Regions from separate parts of the Homo sapiens genome. Here region 1 is linked to region 2. Evidence: promoter capture Hi-C in human tissues and cell types (Jung and others, 2019). All regions are on one chromosome and are shown on one strand. Each heading gives the region's core, a stretch centred on a gene start or on the middle of the fragment in contact. The rest is flanking DNA. Distances are from core to core; before and after follow the strand shown.

Region 1 (2,700 bases), core at 83-2,582, 190 kb after region 2:
TTTAAGCCAGCCGGGCATGGTGGCTCACGCCTGTAATCCCAGCACTTTGGGAGGCCAAGGCGGGTGGATCACAAGGTCAAGAGATCGAGACCATCCTGGCCAACGTAGTGAAACCCCATCTCTACTAAAAATACAAAAACTAGCTGGGCATGGTGGCGCACGCCTGTAGTCCCAGCTACTCGGGAGGCTGAGGCAGGAGAATCGCTTGAACCAGGGAGGTAGAGGTTGCAGTGAGCCAAGACTGCGCCACCACATTCCAGCCTGGCAACAGAGCGAGAGACTGTCTCAAAAAAATGAAAAACTAAAGTGTTAATTTAAGAGAACTAGGATGCATTGGCTGCTTAAGTAAACTGCTTCTAAAAATGAATAGCCTAAGCTACAAGCAGGAGAATTTTTTTTTTCTCTTTGTGTATACATGGGGTCTCACTATGTTGCCCAGGCTGATCTCAAACTCCTGAGCTCAAGCAATCCTCCAGCCTCGGCCTCCCAAAGGGCTGGGATTACAGGCATGCACCACCAAGCCCGACCCAAGCAGAAGAATTCCTAAGTGGCTGGTAGTCTTGGCCTCTATCAAGGTTTGGAGGCACATTGCCATTATGACCTTATCCCTCTACACTATGACCTCACTAGAATCAAGACAGCAGCAGCCATATCTCAGTCCAGAAGACCACAATTAGGGAACTTCAGAAAACACACACACACACACACACACACAATTATACATATAAAATCCTTAAATCAAGAACAACCAAATATATTACTTTTTATGAGATGAATGATAGCCATCTTCTATTAACACTACCAATTAGCCTGACCAAAAAAAGGTATTAATGTAGATGCCAATTAGTGTGGCCTCACTGAAATATAACTTAGATCGAAATTAACTGAGCGTAATATGAAATGGCACCAAGTATCACTGATTTAACACCTGGTGAAATAAAAAATTGTGTTATTTCATGTTCTGTTCTTCAGATAACCAAACAGTATCTTTCACTTTGGCTTCTTAAAAATTAGGGTTCACAGGCCAGGTGTGGTGGCTCACACTTGTAATCCCAGCACTTTGGGAGGCAGAGGTGGGCAGATCACGAGGTCAGGAGTTCCAGACCAGCCTGGCCAACAAGGCGAAACACCGTCTGTATTAAAAATACAAAAAAAAAAAAAAAAAAAATTAGCCAGGCGCCTGTAATCCCAGCTACTCAGGAGGCTGAGGCAGGAGAGCTGCTTGAACCTGGAAGGCAGAAGGTGCTGTGAGCCGAGATCGCGCCATTACACTCCAGCCTGGGCAACAAGAGCAAAATTCCGCCTCAAGAAAAAAAAAAAATAGGGTTCACAATCAGCAAGTGTGAAGTGCATACTAAAACTCTGCTCCAAACACACTTACTGTAAGTGATGTAAACCCAATGGGTATGCCCCAAACTCCATTTTTTTCTCATAGTTAAGTACTGAGATCCCTCTCCAATCTGCAGCTCCCACTTTCTGCAGGCCAAGAAAGTTAAACAAAAAATACAAGCAGGTACTCAGTGAGGACCTGAGGGATTCTCCCACGAGTAAAATACATCTATTTTCACACAAGGTTCTTTTGGTCAACTTCTGGGTTTTGCTCTTACTCCAGAATTGAAGCTACTATAGTGTTATAAATCTGTTGAGAAAAGAAATCTAGACTTCTATGAAGATTTTTAATATTTTAATTTGCCAAAAAGCTTCTCAAATATTTTTATAGCTACAAGTCACATTTATTAAATGATTCCAGTTACAATCCCAAGCACATTTACTACACAACAGACAATGCTAAATGGTGAAGAAAAGTGTCTCCGGCTTTTTAGTGTAAGACAGACGATCTTTCATTAGTTCTTCTAATGAAAGCACTTGCATCTACTCTGAAAAATCTGGCGAAGGTAAAGAGTGAAAAAGAGGAGGAAGAGAAAAGGCAATCAGCCAATTTGATAAACTATTTTTGTCGTTACTGTTCAATATTTATGAAGCACCTTAATGCTAGAGATCTGACAAAAATTCGGTAAGGCTGTTCCAAACAATAACAGAAAAAAAAATCACTTTTCAATAGCTGGCGGGGGAGGAGGAGGAGCACTATATTCAAAAAGTAATTCACTATACCTCATTCATGAATGAAAGCCAAATTTCACCCATAGGCTGTTAACCGATGCTCCGAAACTTATTCGCAAAGTACATAGAGAAAGAAATTGCGCTGGGCGAAACCTAACTCGGGCAGAGAAGCGGCTTCAAAACCTGAAAGGGAGAAAACGAGTCAGGTCGTTGCTCCAGAAATTTCCGAGCGCCCGGCTCCCCGGGAGGGAGCGCGGGCGCCAGCGGCGGGGAGGGGACGGTGGCACCTGTCACTCGAGCGGCCCCCACGGGGTCTCGGGAGGCTCAGCGGTCGCCGGCCTGGGAGTCGGGTGCGAGTCCCTCCCCGCCGCCCCGAGCCTTGCGCCGAGCGTCGGGCCGCGGCCCTCCCGTGCCCTCTGCCCAGCGGCTCCGGTCAGTGGGGCCCGTCGCCTCAGGCCGAGTCCCCGCCACCCGAGGCCGGGGCGCCGAGGGGAGCGCTGTCGAGCCGCTGCCTACGCCTCCGGGGTGCCGGAGCGGACACCCGCGAGGCGGGCCCGCCTCCGCGTACTCACCGGGCCTCCCGTGCCGCCGGCTCGGCCCTCCTCTCCCTCCTCCCCCCGCCGCCGCCTCTCCCGCGGC
Region 2 (2,767 bases), core at 70-2,569:
TGGTAGATGTTCAAGAAATGTGTATTGACCATAACTGAATTGTAAGACCTCTCTCCAAGCCTCAATTTCTTCACCTGTACAGCCCCCATCCAGATTGAAATCTCACCTACTCGGGCTAAGTATATGAAAAACAAAGGCAGTGCAGGGGTAATTGAACTATTCATTAGATAAATGCTTTTATGTCACTTTTATTGTTTTCTAGGACACAGAGTAATACCTACCTTGGTTAACAAAAGACCAAAGGAGGTGATGCCAAATGCGGTTAGAAGTGCTTTTAATCACTTTGGGAGGCCGAGGCGGGTGGATCATGAGGTCAGGAGATCGAGACCATCCTGGCTAACAAGGTGAAACCCCGTCTCTACTAAAAATACAAAAAAAATTAGCCGGGCGCGGTGGCGGGCGCCTGTAGTCCCAGCTACTCGGGAGGCTGAGGCAGGAGAATGGCGTGAACCCGGGAAGCGGAGCTTGCAGTGAGCCGAGATTGCGCCACTGCAGTCCGCAGTCCCACCTGGGCGACAGAGCGAGACTCCGTCTCAAAAAAAAAAAGAAGTGCTTTTAATCAAATAGTTCAAACGACACATAATTAACATTGTTTTAAAGCAAATGGACACTTTAAAGTGGTGCTCCTTCCTCTTAAAGCCCCAACCAGTGCTGGATTTAACAGCAGAGCCATACAGCCAAGACATATGCTGCTACGGTCAACACTCAACCCTAAGTTTGACACCAAAAGATGGCCGCCATTTATTATTGTGACAAAAGGCCAGATTACAAAACGCTGTGTACGGCCTGATCCCAGTTTTACAAAATACTCATACCCATCTATCTACGACGGGGCGCGGGGAAAGGGGAGTCGTTTTAGGAAGTGCTGCTTATTGCTGCCTGGTGTGGGAAATTATGAGTCTTATTTTCTGTTTATTCTTTTTACAAGAACATTTTTATAAATGAATGAATGAATGCTTTCCATGGGTGGATGAGGATCCGGCCTGCCAGGGTGAGGATCCTCTGGAACCAAGAGGGGCCGGGGCAGTAGAACGACAGGTGGCGGGGCTTTGGGCGGCTCCCTCCAGCCCAGGGAGACGCGAGTGCCAGGCCGGGCGCGCGCTTCACTTCCGGGAAGAGGAAAGAGGGAGGGGAGGGGAGAGGAAAAGAAGGGGCAGGAGAGAGAGGCCGGGAGGTTGGGAAAGGGAGGAGGAAAGCATGGAAAAGGGGCGCGGGAAAACGGGGAGGGCGCAGAGGGGCACGGCCCTCACTGCCCCGGCCGGGGCGAGAGCGGCTCCGCCCCTCGAGCGCCGGGTAGGCCGGGGCCGGCGGGGCCCGGAAGGCGACGGGAAGGAGCCGAGCTTGGGTTATGGCGGCGCCGGGCGCGCTGCTGGTGATGGGCGTGAGCGGCTCGGGGAAGTAGGTCCGGGAGAGGGCGGGGGGCGCCCGGGACAAGTGTTGCGGGCGCGGCGGAGGCCGGACGCGTCGCCGTCCCTGCCGGTGGACTGGGGTCTTGGGGACCCCCCACCCTTCCCTTTGCAGATGAAGAAACCGAGGCCCGCGGCTGCCGCGCCCTCTCCCCGCCCTCCAGCCTGCTCGCGGGGCGCCCATCCTGGGACCGCATCCGAGCTCCGGGTTCCCGCTCTAAGACGGGGAGGCTGCGGCGACCGCAGGCTCAGGGAGGAAGCCGCTCCTGAACAGGCGGCTGCGGGGCCGCGCAGGTGGAGGCCTAGCGAGCGGCGCGGGGCTAGGTTTCGGGGCGCCTTGTCGGGGCCAGGCGGGAGGGCGCACGGCCTCTAGCGAGAGGACGCAAACCACGGCCCAGGCTCTCACAGACCTTTGGCCATCTGGACACACAGCGGCCTCCTCCTATGAGGCCCTGGACTTCTCCGATTCAATTTTGGAAAGTGAATCGTTTTCCCCTTCCTTTCATCAGCTTAACCTGGAAGGAGACAGCGTTAATATGGAGGGTGGCTCCTGAGGGTTTGGAAAGAAAGAAGAGAATTGTGGAAACCACAGAGGTAGCCCAGTGTGCTAACCTGGAGACTGAGGAGTTAACATTTGGCTTCCTGTTTAAACCAAAGTCTAACTGTGCCCTTTATCAGAAAAGACAGCTGCTGTACCATTCGACCACAGGCAGCAAAGGACAGAACTTGATCAGCTAAAACATCATAACCTTCAAGGGCCTATAGGACCCTTCTAGAATTTTCTGAATCAGGAACGGCCCATGTTGTGGCCTGTGTAGTCAGGTGTATATTAAAGATTTACTCCAGGTAGATGGGTTTTGCTTTCCAAAATTATTGTAGGGTTCTCAGCCACAAAGATAAAAAGAAATCTTGAACTGCAATTGAAATAAAACATGGAGCCCCCAAATCCCTAGCTGCCATATGATTTGAATCAGTTGGAGAATGTAAAATCATTGCCATGGTGTGATGTAACAGGAGTGAAGAGCCCTAGGTCTTGGTTCTGTTGCTGTCTGGCTGTGTGAGCCTGGGCAGTTCATGTACCCCCTCTGAGTCTTGAATCAGATGAGGGAGGCCTAATCCCTATGATGTATAGCTTGTGATATTCATGTACTCAGTAATTATTGAGCTCAATCCTTACTCTATGTCATTGTCATATAGCGAACAGGACAGATAAAATCCCTGCCCTCAAAGGATTTACATTCTGGTATGGGAGACAGAGTAAATGAATATATGTAGTGTGTGAGTTGGTGATAGATGCTCTGGAGTAAGGGGAACAAAGAGTGCCAGGCAGAGTGGTCAGGGATGTCTCCTCTGGGGGAGTG

What was found. Contacts are between HindIII fragments. The study calls those that stand out against the background at their distance.
Region 1: a fragment that was not itself captured here is called in contact with the fragment with the promoter of IDNK in region 2 in 1 of the 25 tissues and cell types used here (hippocampus).

What each region holds. Positions count from the first base shown.
Region 1 is chr9:83,814,884-83,817,583 of GRCh38, forward strand. It overlaps GKAP1 (G kinase anchoring protein 1), which reads right to left. Exons shown (of 13, transcript NM_025211.4): 1 at 2,634-2,700; 2 at 2,113-2,244. Among named protein-coding and RNA genes, the nearest start is that of GKAP1, 1.5 kb to the right of the region's middle. RefSeq lists a silencer at 2,261-2,700. The HindIII fragment of the contact is 6,997 bases long and covers 1-2,700 here.
Region 2 is chr9:83,621,824-83,624,590 of GRCh38, forward strand. IDNK (IDNK gluconokinase) reads left to right here and starts at 1,320. Exons shown (of 5, transcript NM_001001551.4): 1 at 1,320-1,398. The coding sequence starts at 1,349. RefSeq lists a silencer at 1,015-1,544 and enhancers at 1,725-1,854, 1,875-1,924. The HindIII fragment of the contact is 12,457 bases long and covers 1-2,767 here.